Linked DNA regions of Homo sapiens: regions 1 and 3 are each linked to region 2. The links are contacts of gene promoters, found by promoter capture Hi-C in blood cells and fetal thymus (Javierre and others, 2016). All regions are on one chromosome and are shown on one strand. The core of a region is centred on a gene start or on the middle of the fragment in contact, and the rest is flanking DNA. Distances in the headings are between cores, read along the strand shown. Region 1 holds the start of ZNF461 (zinc finger protein 461). Region 2 holds the start of ZNF329 (zinc finger protein 329). Region 3 holds the start of ZNF567 (zinc finger protein 567).

Evidence for each region. Contacts are between HindIII fragments. The CHiCAGO score rates a contact against its expected background, and 5 or more counts as called.
Region 1: the fragment with the promoter of ZNF461 here is called in contact with the fragment with the promoter of ZNF329 in region 2 in 4 of 17 cell types (non-activated CD4 T cells, monocytes, total CD8 T cells and 1 more); the score reaches 13.3 in non-activated CD4 T cells.
Region 3: the fragment with the promoter of ZNF567 here is called in contact with the fragment with the promoter of ZNF329 in region 2 in 6 of 17 cell types (non-activated CD4 T cells, total CD4 T cells, activated CD4 T cells and 3 more); the score reaches 16.9 in non-activated CD4 T cells.

The regions. Positions count from the first base shown.
Region 1 is chr19:36,664,781-36,668,232 of GRCh38, forward strand. ZNF461 (zinc finger protein 461) reads right to left here and starts at 2,057. Exons shown (of 6, transcript NM_153257.5): 1 at 1,910-2,057; 2 at 1-6. It also overlaps a transcript of ZNF567 not described here. RefSeq lists an enhancer at 2,234-2,363. The HindIII fragment of the contact is 6,595 bases long and covers 1-3,452 here.
Region 2 is chr19:58,149,141-58,152,508 of GRCh38, forward strand. ZNF329 (zinc finger protein 329) reads right to left here and starts at 1,649. Exons shown (of 4, transcript NM_024620.4): 1 at 1,612-1,649. RefSeq lists an enhancer at 1,726-1,785. The HindIII fragment of the contact is 7,703 bases long and covers 196-3,368 here.
Region 3 is chr19:36,686,081-36,689,498 of GRCh38, forward strand. It overlaps ZNF567 (zinc finger protein 567), which reads left to right and starts at 1,532. Exons shown (of 6, transcript NM_001322917.1): 1 at 1,532-1,554; 2 at 3,317-3,417. ZNF567-DT (ZNF567 divergent transcript) reads right to left here and starts at 1,369. Exons shown (of 4, transcript NR_110708.1): 1 at 1,188-1,369; 2 at 606-726. RefSeq lists enhancers at 1,339-1,388, 1,949-2,588 and a silencer at 1,589-1,648. The HindIII fragment of the contact is 4,431 bases long and covers 1,013-3,418 here.

The sequences.
Region 1 (3,452 bases), core at 807-3,306, about 21 Mb before region 2:
GTGTTGCTGGGAGAGAGGGGAGTTAAAAAAAAGACAGGAGATTATTGCCTCTAAGCTCCCAAAATGTTAATTCAGAATGACATTTTTCTTCCCCCTTCATATCTCCTATTCCCAGACCTGATACATACATACATAAATTATTAGTGGGAATTTGGACAAATCCTAGCTTTACTCAAAACCATGAGGAAACTCAGCTACAGCAGGATAGACTCAAGAAAAGCAAGGATCATGCCCTTCAGCAGAAGGGATAGTTAGGCCAGCCCATTGTCCCAATACTATGATGAAATCGAAGCCAGGATCAGGGTGCTGAGAACTGCACTGGGTAGATTTTCACTGAATTAAGAGGAAAAAGAAAAGGTAATGAACATTATGAGAAAAGATTAGGGAAACAGAAAACAGACCCAAAAGACCCAGTGTATGTGTAACAGAAATTTCAAAAATAGAGGCTGAAACAACACAGATGGAAGAGAAAAAATAAATAGAACAAAAATTTGCAGACCAAAATAAATTCTTGAGTCTTTAGTTTGAAGTACAGTGCTGTAAGAATTAAAGAAGAATCATACCTGGAAACATCCTGAAAAATATTCTTAAGTTTGTCTTTGAATACAGACAAAAGGACATAAATATCTTTTAGTAAGAAGTTGCAGAGGCCGGGCGCGGTGGCTCACGCCTGTAATCCCAACACTTTGGGAGGCAGATGCGGGCGGATCACGAGGTCAGGGGCTCAAGACCAGCCTGGCCAACATGGTGAAATCCCGTCTCTACTAAAAATACAAAAATTAGCTGGGTGTGGTGGCGGATGCCTGTAATCCCAGCTACTCGTGAGGCTGAGGCAGGAGAACTGCTTAAAACCCGAAGGCGGAGGTTGCAGTGAGCCGAGATCGCGCCACCGCACTCCAGCCACGGTGAAAGAGAGAAACTTCGTCTCAAAAAAAAAAAAAAAAAAAGGAAGTTGCAGAACAATGTGTATTGTGGCCAAATCTCAGAAAAAAAAAATCAAACACATAGGTACATAAGCATACTACATATGTGGTGTTTTTCTGAGGCTGTAATGATAAATGCGGGGTAGCAATGTGATTTTCGCTTGTGTTGTGTGTGTAAATCTACAGCTAACTCCTCAAGTAGTCAGGAAAGGATGAGAGATGGATGAATGACAGATCTCTGGAGTGGGGCGTCCTGAGCCTTAGATGTGTGCACAGGAGCGGGGTGAGGTGAATGTGCGTGTGTCTGTGTGTGAGAGACCAGAGTTGACTGAGAGGAGTGGAAGCTCTCTGCCTGATCGTGTGAGCCTGAGGATAACGTGAATGTTTTTTTGTTTTTTTTTTTTTGAGACAGTTTCGTTTCACTCTTGTTGCCCAGGTTGGAGTGCAATGGCGCGATCTCGGCTCACAGCAACCTCCGCCTCCCGGGTTCAAGCGATTCTCCTGCCTCAGCCTCCCAAGGAGCTGGAATTACAGACATGCACCACCATACCCGGCTAATTTTGTATTTTTAGTAGAGGTGGGGTTTCTCCACGTTGGCCAGGCTGGTATCGAACTCCCGACATCAGGGCATCCACCCGCTTCGGGCTCCCAAAATGCTGGGATTACAGGGGTGAGCCACCGCTCCCGGCCTGTAAATGTGCTTTTTCTTTCACGTAAATAAATGAGATTTACACAAATAGCCATTCACAATCATGGTCACAGTCACCTACAAACCCCATTTACACAAATGATCAGGCACACAATCACACTGTCACTAAAGCACACCCACGCACCAGGTCGCTGTCCCAACAGTAACACACAGCCCAAAGAGAAACCCTACTTCCTCACGCATTCAAAACACACCCACCTAAGGGCTGATCCCGCACTCAGAGGCCTAAAACTATAGACATTCCCTTCCGCGGCACTGGTGAGCCAGGATTTCTTACCTTCAGCATTCTCAGGGAAGGCTCTGGTCCAAGCTCTGATTCGGATTCCAAGCGAAGCCACACGCCCAGCTCTTCCTTCTCCACCGGCCCGGGACATCCTTACCTGCCTCTACCCGGAGACCATTCCTGCGAGGCTCCTACCGGAAGTAGCTGTGGACAGCAGTGTCCTCTGGGAAATGCAGTCCGAGGGGAGAGCGCCTGGGGTGGAGCGGGTGTGTTCCGCCGGGCTCCGGGATGCACTTGCGCAGTTTCACCCGAGGCTGGAGTGACGCCAACCTGTTAATGTTCGTTTTCGGATTCTGGACTTCGGGTTCCGCTGAGGACGGATTTCGGAATAGGCACAGTGGCTGCCCCGAACCCCTCAAGGCGGCCTCCGCGGGCTGTGGCTGAAGATAATTTTCGGCGGGCGCGGACTAACCCGGCTTCCCTTTGTGGAGTTGTGGTGAGAAAGGTGTTTTGTTGTGCGCGTGTCCGAAGGTGACTCCGGAGGAGAAGGTGGATATGAACTGACGGTGAGGGTGTAGCGCGTGAGATTTGTATGTGAAACGATTTAAAAAAAAATTTTTTTTTTGGCCGGGCGCGGTGGCTCACGCCAAGGCGGGCGGATCACCGAGACCAGCCTGACCAACATGGAGAAACCCCGTCTCTACTAAAAATACAAAATTAGCCGGGCGTGATGGCGCATGCCTGTAATCCCAGCTACTCGGGAGGCTGAGGCAGGAGAATCGCTTGAACCCGGGAGGCAGAGGTTGCGGTGAGCCGAGGTCGCGCCATTGCACTCCAGCCTGGGCGACAGAGCAACTCCTTCTCAAACAAACAAACAAAACTGTATGTCATATATTTGACTCCATTTATTTATTTATTTAGAGACAGAGTCTTCTTGCCCTGTTGCCCGGGCAAGAAAAAACAAACAACAACAACAACAAAAAACTGTACGTCATATATTTCACTCAACTTTTTTTTTTTCTTTTTTTTTTTTTGAGACGGAGTCTCGCTGTCGCCCAGGCTGGAGTGCAGTGGCGCAATCTCGGCTCACTGCAAGCTCCGCCTCCCGGGTTCACGCCATTCTCCTGCCTCAGCCTCCCGAGTAGCTGGGACTACAGGCGCCCGCCACCTCGCCCGGCTAATTTTTTGTATTTTTAGTAGAGACGGGGTTTCATCGTGTTAGCCAGGATGGTCTCGATCTCCTGACCTCGTGATTCGCCCGCCTCGGCCTCCCAAAGTGCTGGATTACAGGCGTGAGCCACCGCGCCCGGCCTCTTTTTGAGACAGGGTCTTCATGCCCTGTTGCCCAGGCTGACTGCGGTGGCGCGATCCTAGCTCACTGCAGTCTCCACCTCCTCAGCTCCTCCCGCATCCACCTCCCAAAGTGCTGGGATAGCAGGCGTGAGCCACCGGGTCAGGCCAAAACGATTTATTTTATTTTTATTTTTTTGGTAAAGACAGGGTCTCGCTATGTTGCCCAGGCTGGTGGTCTCGAACTCCTGGGCTCAAGCGATCCTCCCGTCTCAGTGGCCAAAGTATTGGATGACAGGTGTGAGCC
Region 2 (3,368 bases), core at 399-2,898:
AGCACCATGACAGTTTACAAATGTCATGGAAACATCAGGAAGTTACCCTATATGGCCTAAAAATGGTAGGCATGAATAATCCACCCCTTGTTTAGCATATAATCAAGAAATAACCATAAAAATGGGCGACCAGCAGTTCTTGGGGCTGCTCTATCTATGGAGTAGCCATTTTTTTATTCCTTTACTTTCTTAATAAGCTTGCTTTCACTTTACTCTATGGACTCGCCCTGAATTTTCTTTCCCAAGATATAAGAACCCTCTGTTGGGTTATAGCTCGGGACCCCCTTTCTGGTAACACCTATGCATGTGTCTCAGGCAGGGAGAAGATAAAGATAAAGCTAATGTGGCAAAAAGTGTTAATAATTTTAGAATCTGGATGGTTTTAGAAGTGTTAAACTATTCCTGCAACTTCTATGCAAATGCGGAACTTTTCAAAATGAAAAGTTGGGTGAAGAGAGAGGTAAACAAGCAGTAGAATGGAGGAAAGTCACTTGCTGTGGGAAAAAAGAAAAAACAGACAAAAACTGGGTATTCAAAACGTACTTCAACAAGCCCAAGTTCCTATAGCCAAATTTTTTAACTTGGCAAAAAATAAAGGACCTTTTCAGGCTGATGGTAATTTTAATAAAGGTTTAGGTTGCATTTGTCAAAATTCATCAATGGTACAGGGAATATCTGTGCATTTCACTGAAAGTCAATTTTGGCTCAAAAAATTTAAAAAAGCACTACTGAACTCTAATTCATGGTAAGCATAGTGAGGTGTTTGAGGGAGAAGTGTTGTGATATCTGCAACTTACTTTGAAATGTTTCCAAAAATAGGTGGATTAATGAATGGCTGAAAGGATGGACAGAAGGAAAGATAAGGGATACAGTAAGTTCAGCAGACGTTAACCGGGTCGTTCACTGCACAAGTCTTTCAGCTTCTCTATCTAAACCAACATTTTATGTCATAAAATATTGAGACTGGAAGACTGCACAAAGGAAATATGCCACTAAACCAAGGGAAAAGACAGCAAAATGGTCACTAAACACGTGCAAAAATGCGGCCCTCACTGAGAATTGCAGTAAAACATGATTTTGCAAATATCAAATGGAAAAACACACAGGTGATCTAACACCTTCGAGACTCAAGGGGAAGCGGCTCAGCCCACTGGCTCACGGCCGCCAATTCAGCCGGAGGCCGACCCAAGCCTACACTGCCCCTCACACCTGACAGAAAAGCTGCAGACTCGGGGGTTACCCCCGGAGACGGACCAGGACACCCAGCAGGCGTGGCAAAACAGTCTCTATGGGAGGGCGGGCTAGAGATGCGAGCGCGGAACTCACGGGTGACGCTAAGGAAAGAGCGGGGGCGTCCAGACCAGCCCCGGAGCGACCTCGTCCTCAGAGGAGTGACCCCAATCGCCACGGAGCGTCCCCACCCACCAGGAGAACTACGCCCCTGGCCAGACCCTCGCCCTAGCGGGCCCGACATGCCCACCACCCAGGTGAAACCCACCCGCGGACGCGCCCCTCGCCGCCCCACAAGGACCCGGCGGACCTCCACCCGCCAAGACTTCCCTCCGCAGGAAACGGAGGCAGCGCAGGGCTCAGGGATGCGTCGGCACTTACGGTTGGCGGCCGGCGGCAGCCATGTTCCGGGCGATTGCGCTTGCGCGGCTGCCGGGACAAGGATGTGCGCGTGCGCGGAGTCCCCGAGCTTCCCCCGCCCAACGCTGGGGCGGCCGCGGGTACCGGGTTATTCATTACCCTGGCGTGGACTTGCCTCGGGGCGGACGCGCAGGCATTTACTTTCTCCTATGGTCTCCTCTGATTTTTAACCCGATGCTATCATTCTTTTGTTATAGAGCCTTCCTTTTATTTACTGCATAATTTCCTAAAATATTTCTTTATCTATAATCTTTTTTTGAGATAATAATGTTAAAATTCAGAATAAGTACACTCATTATTCATTGGCAATATAATTATTTACTGGGTGCGTGGCTCACGCCTGTAATCCCAGCATTTTGGGAGGCCTAATTTGTTAAAATGACTAGATCTAAGAAATGTAAACAAAGCCAGTAACTTTCCTCTGTAGTAACAATAGCCGGTTGAAAATGAAAACTACACATTTTCATTCTTTCAGTGGTTCTCTTAAACTTTAGCATGGGGAAGCCTAAATATTTACTGACAGGGAAGAGAGAAACTGTGGTATGTGCAACGGAGCAATAGGGGGTGGTTAAAACAAACGGACTGGGCTCACCTAAGGTCAGGAGTTTGAGACCAGCCTGGCCAACATGGTGAAACCCCGTCTCCACTAAAAATACAAAAATTAGCTAGGCGTGGTGGCAGGCGCCTGTAATCCCAGCTCCTCGGGAGGCTGAGGCAAGAGAATCACTTGAACCTGGGAGGCGGAGGTTGCAGTGAGCTGAGATCGTACCATCACACTCCAGCCTGGGGGACAAGAGGGAGACTTCGTCTCAAAAAAAAAAAAAAAAAAAAGGACTAACTTATATACAAGATAGACAGTTCTCCAAAAACAGTTCGAAAAGTAAACTGTGCACTTATCCACATGATACAACTTACCTGGAAATAAAAGACACAAAATCTATATGTTATACAGAGATTGATACATAAGTAGTAAAGTAACAATAACATGGACCAGATAGATTGTCCAACCTCAAGAAAGTGGCAACTGAGGGGAAAGAGTTGGGGAGGAGACAAAGGAGACCTCAGTTACACCTGTGATGCTTGATAGGAAAAAACAAATCAAAACCTGAAAATCTGACTACATGTTAACACAGGTAAAATCTCGATGATACATGGGTGTCATCTTTATTATTTATAGATTATTCTATTACTCTCCGAACCTCTCCGCAGGTTGAAATACTTCACAATTTTGAAATGAAAATTAGAAAAAAAATTCTAAGCCATAATAGTGATTAAATTGTCACTCACAATAGTGATGGTTGGAGCAACTTGGAAATCAATTAGCAAAAGCAATAAAGGATCTTCATGAAGAAAATACAAAAACCTCATTAACAGACCTGAAGTTAAGTTCAGAACACACTGACATATTATTCCTGAATGGAAAGTATTTTTTTAATTTCTCCATGAAGGCCGTATCAGACCAGGCACAGTGGCTCATGCCTGTAATTCCAACTCTTTGGGAAGCCGGGCTGGGGGGATCACCTGAGGTCAGGAGTTCAAGATGAGCCTGGCCAACATGGTGAAACCCCATCTCTAAAAATATAAAAATTGGCTGGGCACAGTGGCTCATGCCTGCAATCCTAGTACTCGGTCTCAAAAAAAAAAAAAAAATCTTCACAAAACTACTAAACAAAAGTATAGCAATTCCAATTCAAAGACTCCCCCCGCCCCCAGCTCAC
Region 3 (3,418 bases), core at 282-2,781, about 21 Mb before region 2:
CACAATATCACTTCCACCACATTCTATTGGTCAAAGCACCTCACAAGGCCCTGCCTAATAGTAACCTAACCACTGACTAGCATTTCAGGAGGAGAAAAAATACTCCCTTGCTGAAAAACAAAATCAAAGAGAACAAAAATAGAAAATACAACAAAACTTCCTTGACCTTGGTTTTCAGATATGCTCAGCAATGGTTCCCTTTCCTCAGGGCTCTTAGAGAACCTCAAGGCAAGGGAGAAGGGGTAAGGAATCATGAGACATCAGACCTTTCTTGGAACCCAGATTGGCTAAATTGGAAAAAATTATTGCCACCACACGAGCTCTCATCATCTACCATAAACATACTCAGATGGAAGTAAAAGGGAGATGGGAGTACTGCTAACCCTTCTTAGTATTCAAGGGAAAGGCCAGGGTCACTGATATCCAGGACTGGGGACTTTCTCAAAATTCACGTTAAGTCTCCTGCGGAGACAGCTCTGGGAATGATGTGGATCACATGGAACCTGACCTCTGAGAGTTCCCAAGGGAGAGCCTCTGAGGAAGGAATCCTACTCCTAGGTTCTCCCCACGACGTCTTCCCAGAACTCTGCTTAAGGGACACTTACAACTCGAAAAGCCTCGTTCCGAAAACAGGTCTGTCCTTTTTCTGTTTGCAGATTTTATTCCACCACTCGATTATCCCTTCCCTTTTTGATGGCCATTTCACTGCAGCTGGGGTCTATACAGCTATAAAGCGGGAGAAAAAAGGAAGCTGGGAACTCAGAGATGCAGAGCCCAAGAAACAATCGAGTCTAAAACTGCCGCTTAGGTGGGCACTCCGCCAGGATCCCCTGTGTCAAACACCAGGCTGAGAACTGGGGACAGGTGTGCCCTGAGAAGACAACGCGGGCCATGCTTCATTGCAAGATGACTCTGCTTAACATAGGCATGGATCATAGTCCTCACAGGCACATTGGGGAGATCTTCGACAGACCCCTCAGTCCCAACATTAAACACAGCACTGCAGAAATGAAGCTTTACCCGTTACACACACAACACCACAGACCTAAAAGGCTCTTCCATCACACGGCCACAGCAGCACTGTCATGATGGAAGGTCTCAAACCCTACAGTGTCACACACCCGACAGCCGACCACGGCCACCCAAAGGTCCCGCATCCGAGCAGGGACAGGAACACAATCACGCACCTGTCGCAGCCTCCTCGCCGCGCACACCGCCGCCTTGTCCTGGCATCAAACACACACGCACAGGTGCATACACAGGCCCGAGCTACGGCCCTGCACACCCTGTCTGCGTCCCGGGAGCTCGGGGCTTCCTCACCGTGAGCGCCGCCCTCATCCCAGCCACGCACTATGAGAATTTGGAAGGGGAACCAGAGATCAAAGTTCGAAAACCGCCCGGGCGCCTGTGGGAAATGTAGTCCAAGGCCGGAAACGCCCGGATGTGGAGAAGGCGCGCGTAGCCGGTGGACAGCAGGAACGCGCCGCGGAGACACCTGGGAGGCATCGTCCGCGTGGGAGTGCGCATGCGCAGACGCCCGGCCGGCAACCGAAGGTGAGGCTGGTGGGTCCCGCGGGCGCGGAGAAGGCGGGTGACGGTGTGACCCGTAAGGAAGGCTGAGGAGGGAGGCGGGAGCCTGGGCTGGGGAAAGCAAGAAGGGAAGAGGAGCAACCTGGGACGAGGAGTTGGCTGGAGGAAAGTGCGAGTCCGGGCCTCAGAGAAGGCTGGGAGGGAAGCAGGAACCAGAGCGCGGGCCCGGGAGCACCTGAAGAAGGGAACCGGTTGCCCGAGGCGGGGGGTGAGCTCCCCAGTGGCAGGAATTTCGTCTGATTTTCGTCCCCTGGCTCCTGGAGCACGGCCTGGCACACAACAGGCGCTCCGTGTGTGTGTGTGTGGCTTTTCGTACCTGTCCTGTGTGTTGTGGTAGGGGAATGTGTTATTCTGTGTGACGTTGTGGAACCGGTTGTTTATGAAAGTGATAGGGTCCCTGCGTGTCTTAAGTTTTAATTTAAATTAGATGCGAGTCGATTTGTGTTTGAGCCTGTGTCCGACTCTGGAGAGGCGACAGTGAGGGCATTGTGAGTGAAAGGTTGTTACTTTTTGTAGAAGTTCTGTGAAATTGTGCACGACGTGGGGGCCTATGGGATTATGACTATGTAGTGGGTGATACAGCTATGAATATGCCTAATTTTAAAAGTATTTGGTGTACACGACCTATGATGACTGTGAATGTGGCACACTGTGTGACTTAGGTGGAGTGCTTGAGAAACCGAGTGTTGACTAAAGTATGCATTGTTTAGATTGATTTATGAGTATTGGGCATTTTATATATGCCTGTAGAATTTGACTCTGGTAATTAGACAAGTAAAATAAGTAGTGATTTTTTTTTTTTAATGGAGAGGAAGAGGCAAAATAATTTTCAGAGGGTAAGATTGGGCCCATGCGGGCCGGGCGCGGTGGCTCACGCCTGTAATCCCAGCACTTTGGAAGGCTGAGGCGGGCCGATCACGACGTCAGGAGATCGAGAACATCCTGGTTAACATGGTGAAACCCCGTCTCTACTAAAAATACAAAAAATTAACCGGGCGTGGTGGCGGGCGCCTGTAGTCCCAGCTACTTGGGAGGCTGAGTCAGGAGAATGGCGTGAACCCGGGAGGCGGAGCTTGCAGTGAGCCGAGATCGTGCCACTGCAATCCAGCCTGGGTGGCAGAGCAAGACTCCGTCTCAAAAAAAAAAAAAAGATTGGGCCCATGCGCGGTGGCTCACGCCTGCAATCCCAGCACTTTGGGAGGCTGGGGCGGACAGATCACCTGAGGTCAGGAGTTTGACCAGCATGGTGAAACCCCGTCTCTACTAAAAAATATAAAAATTAGCTGGGCATGATGGCGCATGCCTGTAGCCCCAGCTACTCGGGAGCTGAGGCAGGGGAATCGCTTGAACTCGGAGGTGGAAGTTGCAGTGAGCCAAGATCGCGCCACTGCACTCCAGCCTGGGCGACAGAACGAGACTCCGTCCCTTCCCTTCCAAAAAAGATCATTTATTGGGAAACCTGGTATTGACTGATGACTGATATGCTTAAATGAATAGAATACCACTGGGACCACACAGAAAAAAACTTTATCTCATAACTGCCACTCTCAAAATTCCTATTTGAGAGTGTGTGTGTGTGTGTGTGTGTGTGTGTGTGTGTGTGTATTTATTTTTTTTTTTGCTGGATGAATTTCTTCTGCTGGAAGCCTGAAATGTGAAAGGATACATGATTAGTTTCTTCTCTAATTCCCCAACCTTTATTTTGTCTCCTCTTTACTCCCTATAGGCAGTCTTTAGCTCTCATGGATTGGGAGCTGGGAAAGGAATGAGAAGACAGAAGTCAGAGACAAGAAGAGGCTAACATGACTGATACCACTATAATTTAGTG